Regions from separate parts of the Homo sapiens genome. Here regions 2 and 3 are each linked to region 1. The links are contacts of gene promoters, found by promoter capture Hi-C in blood cells and fetal thymus (Javierre and others, 2016). All regions are on one chromosome and are shown on one strand. Each heading gives the region's core, a stretch centred on a gene start or on the middle of the fragment in contact. The rest is flanking DNA. Distances are from core to core; before and after follow the strand shown.

The links. The method cuts DNA at HindIII sites, captures the fragments that hold promoters and counts their contacts. A CHiCAGO score of 5 or more calls a contact.
Region 2: a contact is called between a fragment that was not itself captured here and the fragment with the promoter of DOCK5 in region 1, in 5 of 17 cell types (total CD4 T cells, naive CD4 T cells, naive B cells and 2 more). The highest score is 7.9, in total CD4 T cells.
Region 3: a contact is called between a fragment that was not itself captured here and the fragment with the promoter of DOCK5 in region 1, in 1 of 17 cell types (fetal thymus). The highest score is 5.9, in fetal thymus.

Annotation. Positions count from the first base shown.
Region 1 is chr8:25,183,366-25,188,083 of GRCh38, forward strand. It overlaps DOCK5 (dedicator of cytokinesis 5), which reads left to right and starts at 1,324. Exons shown (of 52, transcript NM_024940.8): 1 at 1,324-1,586. The coding sequence starts at 1,544. LOC124901912 (a long non-coding RNA gene) reads right to left here and starts at 1,012. Exons shown (of 2, transcript XR_007060861.1): 1 at 1-1,012. RefSeq lists silencers at 1,142-1,221, 1,232-1,401, 1,572-1,621. The HindIII fragment of the contact is 10,671 bases long and covers 1-4,718 here.
Region 2 is chr8:26,099,073-26,103,790 of GRCh38, forward strand. No RefSeq gene overlaps it. Among named protein-coding and RNA genes, the nearest start is that of EBF2, 56 kb to the left of the region's middle. The HindIII fragment of the contact is 153 bases long and covers 2,454-2,606 here.
Region 3 is chr8:26,053,246-26,057,963 of GRCh38, forward strand. No RefSeq gene overlaps it. Among named protein-coding and RNA genes, the nearest start is that of EBF2, 10 kb to the left of the region's middle. The HindIII fragment of the contact is 4,348 bases long and covers 229-4,576 here.

The DNA.
Region 1 (4,718 bases), core at 74-2,573:
GCACGTCTGGCTAACTTTTGTATTTTAGTAGAGAAGGGGTTTCACCATGTTGGCCAGGCTGGTCTGGAACTCGTGACCTCAGGTGATCCACCCGCCTCGGCCTCCCAAAGTGCTGAGATTACAGGCATGAGCCACCACGCCTGGCCAACTACCTGTCTTTACTATCTTTACTACATGTTTGTCTTCCTTTCTTTTATATTCCTAAAACGCATGAAAACCTTCACAGGCTGCAAGGAGGATATAATTTCTCTCTAGAGGAATCTTCTTCGAAGGTGAACGTAATTAAGCTGGTCATTTACTCTACTTGCAATGTTACTTCTCGGTACAAGGTAGGGAGAAACCCCTGGATCTTCATTCTCCAAGTCTCTCCAGGAAGAAATGAATTCCAAGAGGGGAGCTCCAGAGAGGGCGCCACCTGGAGCCCAAGGCGGTTCAAATGCGCAGCCCCTTTGGGATCTTCGTCAAGAAAAGGCAGTCGTTGACGGAGAAAAGACGGGGATGCGCCTTGGCCCTTTCTCCACGGGAATGCTCTCTGGGCTGCTGGCTGGTTGGGAAAGGGAGGTCTGGGCATGAGGGTCTAAGTTTCTTCAGCTTAAGGTTGGGGGGTCCCCGGAGTTTGGGGATACAGGACTTCCAAATTAGGGCTTTCTAAACAATTTCCCTGCAGAGGATCCCCTAGCAAACGGTCTGATACTTCTGAGGAGCCCACCTCCCTTGCACCAGCTCTCCGGTGATAAAAGTTCTGCTTTCCAGGCTCTAAGCGGTGGCCCCGGGAGATTCAGTCTGCCCTGAGTCCGGCTTCTCCCGCTCGCGGCGCGGGTTCAAGCTCCAGGGGGTGAAGGCAGAAGTCAACTGCTCATTCATTCAACAAATATTTATTGCGCGCCCGCTTAGTGCCAGGCACCGGAGGTGCCCCGAGCAAGAAGCCGCTCTCGCTGATCCGTTTCCGCTCCCCAAGTGTCCGGCGCGCGCCGTGGGAGCGCAGCCCGCATCCCTCGCCCACCGGCCGCCCGGCCTGGGCGTGCCCGGCTCCTCCAGCGCAGCCCTCTGTCGGGAGCCGGACCCCCGGGACCCAGCCTCCGGGGTATCAGCCGGGTGGGGAGGGCGGGAGAAAGGCAAAGTGCCGCCAGCGTCAAAGTCCCGCCGGCCCAGGAAGCCGCTCCAGGGAAGCGCGCGAGGCGGAGCCGCAGTCGGCCCCCGCCCGGCAGAGCGCAGAGAGCGGCGCGGGCGGGAGAGGCCGGGCGCCCGCGGCTCGGAGGCGGCCCCGGCGGGCGGAGGGTGCGGCCGGCGGGAGGGACTGGGGCGGCGCCAGGAGGGGCGCGCACTGCTGCGCTGCAGCCCGGCCCAGCAGGTGACCGCGGGCGGCGCGGGCACGGGCACGGGCGCGGGCGGCGCGGCGAGGAGGCGGCCCGCGGAGTCCAGCGAAGTTTGGCGGAACATGGCGGAAGCGTCTGGGGCACGCAGGAGCGCGGGGCGGCGGCGGCCGGAGCCCGAGGAGCTGTAGCAGCCTTAGTCGCCGCCGCCGCGGGGCGAGGTCGCCGCCATGGCCCGCTGGATCCCGACCAAGAGGCAGAAGTACGGGGTTGGTGAGTGCGCGCCCCACCTTGTCCCGGCCCGACCCACGCGGCCAAGTTCGCGGACAGCGGCCCTGCCAGGTTTGCGCAGAGCCCGGCGGAGGACCCTGGCCGGGGGCTCGGCCCGGCTGCGCAGCTCTGGGAGCCGGGGACGGTAGGAGTCCTCTCCAGGGAGCGCCGATGGGGAAGTCGCCCAGGGTTTGGGGACTCCGAGTGCTTCCAAGTGCAGCTGAGCTTCGGGACCGTAATCCCGCTCTTGCATCCCAATCTCCGGCACTTCACACCAGGGAAATGTCAACGCGAGGGGGGCGCGCCTGCTGCTCTTTTGGGGCCGCAGCTCTGTGGCTCGCCCCGGTGCGCCCAGCGTGGGTTTCACCTGGGAGTAGGTGACCAGCCCGGGTCGGCACATGGACTGGTGCTCATTGTCCCAGTGCTTTCTGCCCCCCGCTTTCGTAGGTTCTTCTCAGACGCCCCTTAAGTGAGGAGTTGAGGGTGGAAAGCCGCCCTGCCCCCTTTCCTCCAGAGACTGGGATCTTGATGACAGTTGTGAGCTGGATGGAAACTAGAGTCGTGGCGTGGAAGTGATGGAAGGGACAGGAAGTTGTGGCACGGGAAGGGGGTGGCTGGCCCCTGGGGCTGTTTGTGCGCACTCATCCCCTAACGGAGCCTGTCTGGAGAGGGTGTAAGGCTGCCTTCCGGATCCTGAGTTTCATCCTGGAGACGAGAAGAGGACATTTTATTAAGGAAACTGTGCCAGACCCCGTGCTGGGCACTTGGCATTCAGAACAGCGGTGCTGGAGAGCCCCGGGTTGTGCGCAGGGGTTGCTGGTGGTGGTGCTTTGGCTCCGAAACAATAGATGTGCGGGGATTTTGACCCAGGTGGAAAGTCAGGCTCCTTTGGCTTTTTATCAAGGATTGAAGTTATTGAGGGCCTGTGGGAAGACTTCTGCCCTGAACGGGGTGATTACAATGGCAGTTAGACCTGGGGTGATTCCCTACAATAAACACGGCTGAGTGTGTTGCGAATTTTATCACTTCCTCTCAGATCCATTCATTTGGCCTGTTTGTAATTTAGTCTTTGACTTTACTCCCTTACTGAGGTCCTGTTTTTCCTCACCTCACTGGTTAATGAAGTGCAGTCTCAATTAAGAGCTACTCAACGTGTCTAGGGGCTTTTCAACTCTGTAGCCAGGAGTCAGGGTTTTTTGTTGTTGTTTGTTTTGTTTTTTAACAGTCTCATATTTACTATATTATTCTTAGGTTGTGATCCTTTATATATTTATTATTTTTTGTTTTCCCTCAATTCAAAAGACATTTTCTTTTTTGCTCTTAAGTTGCTTTTAGAATCTTAGTCTCTCCCTTAGCTGCATCTCAGAAATGGGTAGAGATGTTGCTTCTGCCTCAGGGCTCTTTTTTTTTTTTTTTTTGGTTTGTTTGTTTTTGAGACGGACTGACGAGGGAGTCTCACTCTGTCGCCCAGGCCGGAGTGCAGTGGCGCAATCTCGGCTCACTGCAAGCTCCACCTCTAGGTTCCAGCAATTCTCCTGTCTCAGCCCCCCTCCCCGAGTAGCTGGGATTACGGGCTTGCATCACTACACCTGACTAATTTTTGTATTTTTAGTAGAAACCAGGTTTCGCCATCTGGGCCAGGCTGGTCTCAAACTCCTGACCTCAGGTGATCCGCCTGCCTCGGCCTCCCAAAGTGTTGGGATTACAGTCATGAGCCACCTCACCTGGCCCCTAGATGAAAGCATATTTACAATGCCCAATCACTACAGAAATGTTATCAACTCTAATTTTATCAGGATTAAAAGCTCTTTTCAAAACTATTCAGTTGAGGGTAATTAATGCAAACATGTTTCAAAAATGTGGTTTTTATTGCCATAGTCCTAGGAGCAAGTATAATTGTTTTTAATATTTTGTTTTTATGTTCTGGAGTCAGTTTACTGTGTCACTTATCAGTCAAGAAAAATATTTGGGCCAGGTGCGATGGCTCACGTCTGTAATCCCAACAATTTGGGTGGCAGAGGCAGGAGGATTGCTTGAGCCCAGGAGTTCAAAACTAGCATAGCAACATGGCAAACGGGTCTTTACAATAAATACGAAAAAAATTTAGCCGGGCATGGTCGCCTGTGCCTGTGGTTCTAGCTACTGAGGAGGCTGAGGTGGGAGGATAGCTTGAGCCTGGGAGGTTGAGGGTGCACCGAGCCCCCATCACGACACTGCACTCCAGCCTGGGTGATACTGTGAGACCCGATCTCAAAAAAAAAACTATATATACATATATATACGTATATATATATATACACACACACACACACGTATACACACACATATATGTATATATGTATATACATATATATGTATATATGCGTATATGTGTGTGTGTGTATATATATATGTATATGGAAATATGGGTGGAAATTGTGTGTGTGTGTGTGTGTGTGTGTGTGTGTGTAAAATATTTGGATTGCATTTCCAGGGCCTAGGTGTTAGGGAAACTGCTCCAGGATATAATTCTGAACACTTATTTCACCAGACATAGATTCTGGTTTGTCTGGGTTTGACAAAAGGACCCACAGTTGGGATAAATTAACTGAAGAGAGAAATCTCCATTGCTTATTGCTAAAACTCATTGTTTTTGTCACCTCCTTGCTTATGTTTATGTCACCTCCCTGCTTGGAAGTCTCTCGTGGTCAACAGGATAAAGTCTGAGCCTCCGTTCCAAGGTTCCTATAATCTGGTTCAGCCTATCTTCAGCATTATCTCTCGAGGCTTCTTTCACTAGCTCTCCAATGCAGACCAACTGCCCTTCCCACTGTTGTGCAACATACCCTGCAGAGTCCCTCCTTTGGGACTTTGCTCCCATTGTGCCTGTCCCTGCCAGGAGTGCCCTCCCAACTCTGCCTCAGACAGCTCACCTTTCCTTGAGGGCTCAAATCCATTCCTACTCCCTTCTTCAAATTTGCTATTTGTCAGACTGTCCCAAACCTCCTTGCTTCTTCCTCGCAGTTCCTGGACTGTGCCATCCTTGGGTTCAGTGAATCAGACCATTGTGGTTTTGTATTCCTAGCACTCAACAGGTGTACCAGGTATTAGTGCATTCAGTTTGCTTGTCCTTGATGTTGGGGTGCCGTTCTAAAG
Region 2 (4,718 bases), core at 1,280-3,779, 920 kb after region 1:
AGATTCTATTCATCAAGACTACAAACAATCCTAAATATGTATGCATCTATATCGGATCTTAAATATTAAAATAAGATACATCTTACAGAACCAAAGGAAGAAACAGACAAATCCATAATCATAGTTGGAGATTTTAATACCAATCTCCTAGTAATAGAAGCAACAGACAAAAGTTTAGTAAGGATTTAGATTTGAACAGCACTATCAACCAATTTGACTTAATTGACTTTTATAGAAGCGTATACCTTATAACCACTTAACGTATATGTGTATTTGTCAAGTGCATATGGAATGTTCAGATAGAACACTTACTGGGCCATAAAATAAGTGTCAACAGTTTCAAAAGATTGAAATACAGAACATGTTCTATGACCACAATGAAATTAAAATTAAGAATAAATAACAATGAGATATCTAGAAAACTCCTAAGTATTGGAAATTAAACAGCATATTCTCAATGACCAAATAAGATAATGAAATAAGTTTTAAAATTTTTTAACTAAATGATAATGAAAACACAACATATAAAAACTTGTGAGATATAGCTAAAGCACTGATTCCCGGGAAATTTGAAGACTTATATTAGAAAACAAGAAAAGTTTAAAATTAATGAGCTATGTTTCCATCCTCAGAAGCTAGAAGAGCAAATTAAATGCAAAACAAGTGATATGGTTTGGCTGTGTTCCCACCCAAATCTCATCTTGAATTGTAGCTCACATAATCCCCACGTGTGGTAGGGACCTGGTGGGAGGTAATTGAATCATCAGGGTGGGTCTTTCCTGTGCTGTTCTTAAAGTGAATAAGTCTCATGAGATTTAATGGATTTTTAAAGTTCAGTTCCCCTGCACACGCTCATTTGCCTGCCACCATGTAAGACATGACTTTGCTCCTCCTTTGTCTTCCACCATGATTGTGAGGCCTCCCTAAACATCTGGAACTGTGAGTCCATTAAACCTCTTTTTCTTTATAAATTAATCGGTCTTGGGTATGTCTTTATTAGCAGCATGAGAACAGATGAATACAACAAGTATAAATAGGGAAATAATAAAGAGCAGAAATTAATGAAATGAAAAGTAGGAAAAAAAGGAAGCCAAAATTTGGTTATTTGAAATATCAATAAGATTAATAAATCTCTATCGAGATTGAGTAAGAAAATTAGAAAAAAGACACAAGTTACTACCAGCAATGAAAAAAGAGAGGACACTATAAGATTTCAGAGATAATAAAGTGATAAGAAAATGTTATTAATGGCTAAATGACAACAAATTTGACAACTTATAGGAAGTGGACAAATTCCTTGAAAAATATGACTCACCAAAACAGACACAAGAAGATATAGAAAGAATGGCTTGATATCACTGAAATTGAATTTGTGATGAAAATTCTTTCTACAAAGAAAACTCTAGGCCCAGATAATTTGGTAAACTTAAGCAATTAATGCTAGTCTTAACAGCTTTTTCAGCCAGAGGGAACACTTCACCGCACATTTGGTGAGGCCAGCATAGCACTGATACTAAAACCTAAAAAAAAGTCATTGAAAGCAAAGAAAATCATAGGCTAATATCCAACATACATTCCACGAAAATAAAATTACAGACCAGGATTTTTTAGACATTAGCAAGTAGAAGACAGAAATATAAGAAAAGGATAATACCTCATGACCAAGTGGGGTTTATCCCAGGAATATAAAGAAGTTTAACATTCAAAAATTAATATACTCCTTCACATAAGGATAAAGGAGATATCATACAAACATGAAACAAAAGAAACTTGGAATGGCTACACTAAAATGAGACATGGTAGATTTCAGAACAAGGACTATTACTAGAGGGAAAAAAATTCATATTAATAAAGAGAACTACTTATCATTCAGTTGTAAAAAAATCTTAAATGTGTTTGCACCAAAGAGATATTTCAAAATAAACGAAGCAAAAAACAAAACAACAACAACATAAAAACCCTCAAAAGATTGAAAGAAGAAATCCACAATTAGAGAAAAAGAGTTGATTATTTTTTCTTCAGTCATTACTAGAGCAACTTCATGGAAAAATTATTGAAGAGATAAAAGACTTGAAAAACACTATGTAGCAATTTAATCAATTTACATTTATACAACATTTCACCCAACCACAAAAGAATATACGTTTTTGTTTAAGTGCACCTGAAACATTCACAAAGATAGAACATATGCTGGGCTATAATACAAGTTTCAACAAATTTTAAAGATTAAAACCATACTGAATATATTCTCTAACCACAACAGAAAAGAAAATGAAAATCAGTAACAGGAAGATATCTTTTAAATCTCAAATGCATAGTTAATAAACTAAATGAAAATGAAATCACAAGGCACAAAACTTGTGGGATGCATCTAAAGCAGTGCTCCAAGGGAGTTTTGAAACTTTAAATGCTATTTTGGAAGACAAAAAAAAGGGTATATGATCAACGGTCTAAGCTTCCATCTTAAGAAGCTAGAAAAAAGAAGAACAAATTCAACCCAAAGTAAGTATAAGGAATAGAATATAAAAAAGCAGAAATCAATGAAATAGAAACAGAAGAATAGTACAGAAAAAAATCAATAACAGCAAAACTGATTCTCTTTTATAAGCTTAATAAAGTTGATAAATCACGTACAAAAATTAAAAATATAGAAAGGATAATAACTTAATAAATTCGACAACTTAGATAAATGGAACAAATTTCTTAAAAGATAAAAATTACCAAAACAGTTTCAAATGGAAATAGAGTATCTGTATAGCCCTATATATAAAAGAAATTGAATTCAAAATTTTAAAATTACAAAGAAAACTCCAGGCCTGCATGGCTTCCTAGGTGAATTATGTTAAACATTTACAGAAGAAATAATGCCAATCTTTCATAGGCTTTTCTGGGAAATAGAAGAGAAGCAGATATATCCTAATCATTCAATGAGGATAGTATCACCCATATACCAAAATCTGACAAAGATTTCATAACAACAGGAAACTACAACCTATCCCTCATTAACTTAGATGCAAAATCATCAACAAAATATGCAAAAAAATCCAAAAAACAAGGCCAGCAATATATTACAAGAATAATATGTTATGAGTAAATGACATTTATTTCAGGAATGCAAAGTTGGTTTAATGATTTAAAAGAGTCAAGTTGCAAGGAGTCTCAAATAGCCGAAACAATCCTAAAAAAGAAGATAAAGTTGGAAAGCTCACACTTTCTGTTCAAAAATTATTACAAAGCTACAATAATTAAAACTATATAACAGTGGCACAAGGACAGACATAGGGACCAACAGAATAAAACAGCCCAGAAATAAACCCTCACATATATGTTTATTGATGTTCAACAAGGGTGTCCAAACATTTAATGGGGTAAGACAGTCTTTTGAACAAAGGGTGTTGGGAAAACTAGATATCCGTATGCAAAAGAATGAAATTGGATTCTTACTAGACACCATATATAAAAAATGATCCAGAATGAATCACAGACCTAAAATTAAGAGTTAAAACTGTAAGACTCTTAGAAGAAAACACAGAGTAAATCATCATGACCTTGAATTTGGCAGTGGATTCTTAGATATGACACCAAAAGCACAGGCAATAAAAGAAAAAATAGATAAACTGTACTTCAATTAAGTTAAGAAGTTTAGTGCATCAAAAGATACTATCAAGAAAGCAAAAAAGACAATCTACTGAATGGGGGAAAATGTTTTATCAGATAAAGTATTAATTTCCAAATTATATAAACAACTCAACAAAAACCACAAAAATAACCCAATTCAAAAATGGGCAAAGGATTCATATAGACGTTTCTCCAAAGAAGATGTGCAAATGACCAATAAACACATGAACTGATACTCAACATCATTGGTCGTTAGAGAAATGCAAATCAAAACCTCAATGAGATAACATTTCACACCTACTAGAGTGGCTGTAATTTTTAAATTTTAAGAAAAAAAACAGAAAATAATAAGTGTTGGCGAAGATGTAGATAACATTGGAAACCTTGTATTTCTGGTAGGAAAGAAAAATGGTGCAGCCACTGTGGGAAACAGCTGGGCGGTTTCTCAAAAGGTTAAACATGGAATCATCATATGACTCAGCAATTCTACTCCTAGGTATATATCCAAAGAATTGAAAGCAGAGACCTGAACAGATTTATAGATATAGATATACAGATAGATAGAGGTGAGATAGAGATAGAGATAGAGATAGAGATAGAGATAGAGATAGAGATAGAGATAGAGATAGAGATGATATAGGATTCTTTTTTTGAGACGAAGTCTTGTTCTGTTGCCCAGGCTGGAGTGCAGTGGTGCAATCTCAGCTCACTGCAACCTCCATCTCCCTGCTTCAAGTGATTCTCCCACATCGGCTTCCCCAGTAGCTGGGATTACAGGTGCCCGCAATCATGTTCAGCTACTTTTTGTATTTTTAGTAGAGATGGGGTTTCACTGTGTAGGCCAGGCTGGTCTCGAACTCCTAACCTCAAGTGATCCTCCTGCCTTAGCCTCCCAAAGTGCTGGGATTACAGGCATGAGCCACTGCATCTGGCCTGAACAGATATTTACACAGCAATGTTCACAGCAGCATTAATCACAATAGACAAAATGTGGAAACAGTGTTAAGTATCCATCAACAGATGAATGGATAAACAAAATACAGTATTAATTACAGTATGTTTGTATAGTGGCATATATTTAACTATAAAAAGACAAAACT
Region 3 (4,718 bases), core at 1,153-3,652, 870 kb after region 1:
GCAATAAAATCATTTAATTATCTCACATACCAAGAAGCCGGGAGGTAGATGGCCCCAAGTTAGGTTGCCACAAACAACCCTGGTTCATTTGCTTTGCATGTTGAGTTTCAATCTCACCGTTACTGCCTCCTAGTGGCGGATACGGCGGCAATAGTGGCGCACATTCAAGGCAGGAAGCAAGAGGAACAGAGCCACCAGCAGGTTTGGCCCAGTGGATTGCAAAGTAGAAGCTTTTCCAGAAACAGCCCTTATGCCTCCTTTGCCATAACTGAGTCACGTGGCCATCCATAGTTAGACGTTTATCTGGGAAAGCAAGTGCCTCCATTGTGAAGCACTTCAGGGCGGGTTGAGAATGGCAGTTGGATTAGGCAGCTAGACAAGCCCCCCTCCCCACAAACCCCCCCCTTTTTTTTTTTTTGACAGAGTCTTGCTCTGTCACCCAGGCTGGAGTGCAATGTCGCCATCTCGACTCACTGCAACCTCCACCTCCGGGTTCAAGCGATTCTCCTGCCTCAGCCTCCTGAGTAGCTGGGATTATAGGCGTGTGCCACCATGCCTGGCTAATTTTTGCATTTTTTCAGTAGAGATGAGGTTTCACCGTGTTGGCCAGGCTGGTCTTGAACTCCTGACCTCAAGTGATCCGCTCGCCTCAGACTCCCAAAGTGCTGGAATTACAGGCATGAGCCACTGCGCCTGGCCTTAGACAAGCCCATTTTATTTTATGTCCTGCAATAGGTCTTTAACTTGTGTGTAGTTAACTTCACCCATGTTTTTCTTTATAATATCTTTTGTGTATAATTAAAAATAAAATTTAGCACCTGTTATGTACTCATAATTAAAAATAAAACTTTTTAAAGCATAATATGTTCATTTTGTGTTGTTTGCAGGTAATCCTTCCCCATTCCAAGATAAATATTGATGTATATTTTCTTATTTCTCTATTTTCATTAAAAATTTTGCCCTAAGTAAATAGATTTGTTCATTATGGTCTTGGTTCCCTTTTCAACAATAAAGACTAAGTTTTAGAAGGCCAATTTAAACAGAAGATTAGCTATAGATACTGAAATATCAAAAATTTTTTTTTTTTTTTTTTGAGACAGGTTCTTGTTCTGTTGCCAATCTTGGCTCACTGCTGCCTCCAACTCCCAGGTTCAAGCAATTCTCGTGCTTCAGCCTCCTGAACGACTGGGATTACAGACATGTGCCACCACCCAGCTGATTTTTTTTTATTTTTAGTAGAAACACTGGGTTTCATCATTTTGGCCAGGCTGGTCTTGAACTCCTGGCCTCAAGTGATGCGCTCGCCTCCCAAAGTGCTGGGATTACAGGCATGAGCCACCACACCCCGCCCATTTTATTCAAAATATTTTGATGTTTATTTATCAACTATAGTCCATCTGGAATTTATTTCCATTTATATTAAGAGGTGGAAATCAAACTTCTGTCACTAAACTCTTAATTGTACCAACAGCATTTATTAAATAATCCTTAATTTCTCCCAAAATGTGAAACATTGGTATGTGTATATATATATATGTATACATATACACATGTACGTATATATACACGTATATATACGTACGTACGTATATATACACGTATATATACGTACGTACGTATATATACATGTGTATATATATATGGAGAGAGAGAGAGATTTTAAAATTAGAACTGGAAATTTATGACATTTAGAAACTAGAAAAACCACATGCTTTTTAGTTTATGCAGTTTATTTTATGTCCTGCAGTAAACCTTGTAGTATTGGCTGGTCTTGGTGGCTGATGTCTGTAATCCTAGCACTTTGGGAGGTCAAATGCAGGAGGATTGCTTGAGCCCAGGAGTTCAAGAACAGCCAGGACAACATCGTGAAAGCATGTCTCAAGTAAAAAAATAAAAATAAATTTAAAAAAAAAGCCTGTAGTTTATTCATATAGGTCCACCACAAATTTTGTTTGAATTATTCCTAGGTAGTTTGTATTTTTTTTCTACTGTAGTTCCTGATTATTGCTGAAATATGGGGAACTTGTTCATTTATTACACACAGAGATATCTTTCTTAGCTCTTATTAGTTGTCCTAGTTTCTTAATTGATTCAGTTAGACTTTCCAAGTAGACAATTATATCACCTACTTAATGATAATTTGGTCTTTTTCTTTCTAGTAAAGTAAACCTGATTTATTTTACCTGTTTAGTTTACCTGTTTAGTTTCATTGTATTAGAATACAATGGCAAAGAGTAGAAGTATCAGAGATACACTTTATATTGTGTCTGAATATTATGGATATTTTTATAATGTGTTATTAAGTTGATGATTGGTGTCTGATATTATAAAGTACAGATTTATCTCAGGTTACTGAGAACTTTGATTATAAATAGATGTTGAATTGTATCAAATATATTGTTAGCACTTATTAGGGTGATTATAGACTTTTCCTCATCTTTCTATTATTGTTATTAATTAATATATTTACTAATAATGACATATTTTTGAATTTCTATAGTAAACCCAACATGGTCATTTAATCATTTATGCATCCATTACAAATTTATCAGACACTCACCTTACCAGGGACACCATGGTAAATGACACCAAGTCCACACCCCTGAGAAATTTATACTCCAGGGAAAAGATGATGATTGATTTGCAATTTTCTCATGTTAATTCTGTCTTTGCAGGTGTGTTGTGTATTTACTCACCTGACATCCATCATTTATTCTCACCTCCTCTTCTGTGCCTTTCTGTCCTGGAGATTTACTTCTTTGGTGTTCTGTGGATCATTTTAGAAGGCCCTGCTTGAAGTTTGCCTCTCCAACTCTTCCAACAATTTTACAAACTCCACACCCCCTTTTTTAAATCTCTTTTTCTATGATGTTTGGAAGATTTTCTATTTCTTATGCCAATCTCCAACTAGCACATCAGATTTTGGTATCAGGGTTATATAAGCTCTGTAAAAATAATTTCTATGATTTTTTAAATATACAAGTTTAGTTTAAATAGCATAGGATCTATATTTTCTTTAAATTAACAGAACTTGGCCAGGCACAGTGGCTCACACCTGTAATCCTAGCACTTTGGGAAGCCGAGATGGGAGGATCACTTGAGACCAAGAGTTCGAGACCAGCCTGGTCAACATAGCAAGAACCCCCCGCCCCCCCCCGCCCCATTCTCTATTAAAAAAAAATTAACAAAACTTTCCCATAAAGGCTTTGATAAATTATCTAATTTATTTGATGGTTAATGATTTATTCAGGTTTTCTATCACTTACTGAGTATATTTGGATAATTTTTATTCTCATATAAAATAATCTATATCATTAATATTTTTAAATACATTACCATAGAGCTGTACCTTGTATTCTGCTATAACTTTAATTTTCTGTATCTGAAACAATTTTTTCCCATTGCCAGAGTTGAATATTTTCATTTTGCATCCTGTTTTATTTATTTATTTTTAATACTTTAAGTTGTGGGTTATATGTGCAAAACGTGCAGTTTTGTTACATAGGTATACATGTGCCATGGTGGTTTGCTGCACCCATCAACCCACCACCTACATTAGGTGTTTCTCCTAACGTTATCCCTCCCCTAGCCACCCACCCCCCGATGGACTTGGAACCAACCTAAATGTCCTGTTTTATTTTTATTCCTCCAGACTTTTCTAATTTATACTCCCATCAACAGGGCACCAGAAACTTGGTATTATCTGACTTTGTAATTTTGGCAAATCTGATGGGTATAAAGATATATCTTGCTGTTGTTTTAATGTGCATTTCTTTGCTTGCTGGTGAAGTTGAGCATCTCTTCAAACGTTTTTTAACCATTTGGATCCCCCACCAATTAACCACTTATTGATAGCATTTTTCCACTGGATTTTCAGCCTTGGAGATGGTTGTTGCTGCTGCTTCTGCTGCTGTTGATGTTGATGATTGGCGGAAGGATTTTATATGTTTAGATGTTAATTGTCAGTTTTAGATGTTACAGATATTATCTCTTAATCTGTCATTTGTCTATAACTTGGTCAGTGTTGTCCTCTGCTGATTAGCAATGCTTTATTTTTATCTGGTCAATTCCGTCCACTTTTGTGCTTTGGAGTCCTACTTAAGAAGTCTTTCTACACCTCAAAATTACACAAAAAAATCCAACACTTCTAATTTCGTCTTTTACATCCACATGTTTAATCCCATGCATATGAGATTAACTTGTGACATTGTCTAAAATAGTGGTCCAGATTCTGTTTTCTCCATTAAATGAGCTATAACTGAACTATTATACCACCAAATGCCTTGTAGCATGGCAAGAAAGAAAATTGTCCCAAATATGGTCTGGGACACAATTTTCTTTATGTATGTGATATAATTTATAATTCCTTCTGGGAAATAATTAGCATCCTTGTGTGATTTTTTGGTAGACTTTATTGAGCTCAAGAGCATCTTCTGAGAAGCTATCAGTCTTGAGAAGAGTCTGATAACATTAACTGGCACTGCCTTATTGTATTTTTCTACAACCTCTTCTTCAAAGAAAAAAATCTGCAATGGCTGGCTCAGGACCTTCTTTCCCCAGGGCAAATCTGAAATAAAGCTTTGACATGAGCCTGTAAGAATTTTTTCAGAAAGGGTACTTTAACAACAGCCTACATAGTCTTCAGCTCTTCTAGATAGAACTGAAGACTGTATGGATGAACCTTCCCCTCCATCCACTCACGCCTGTAATATGTCTTA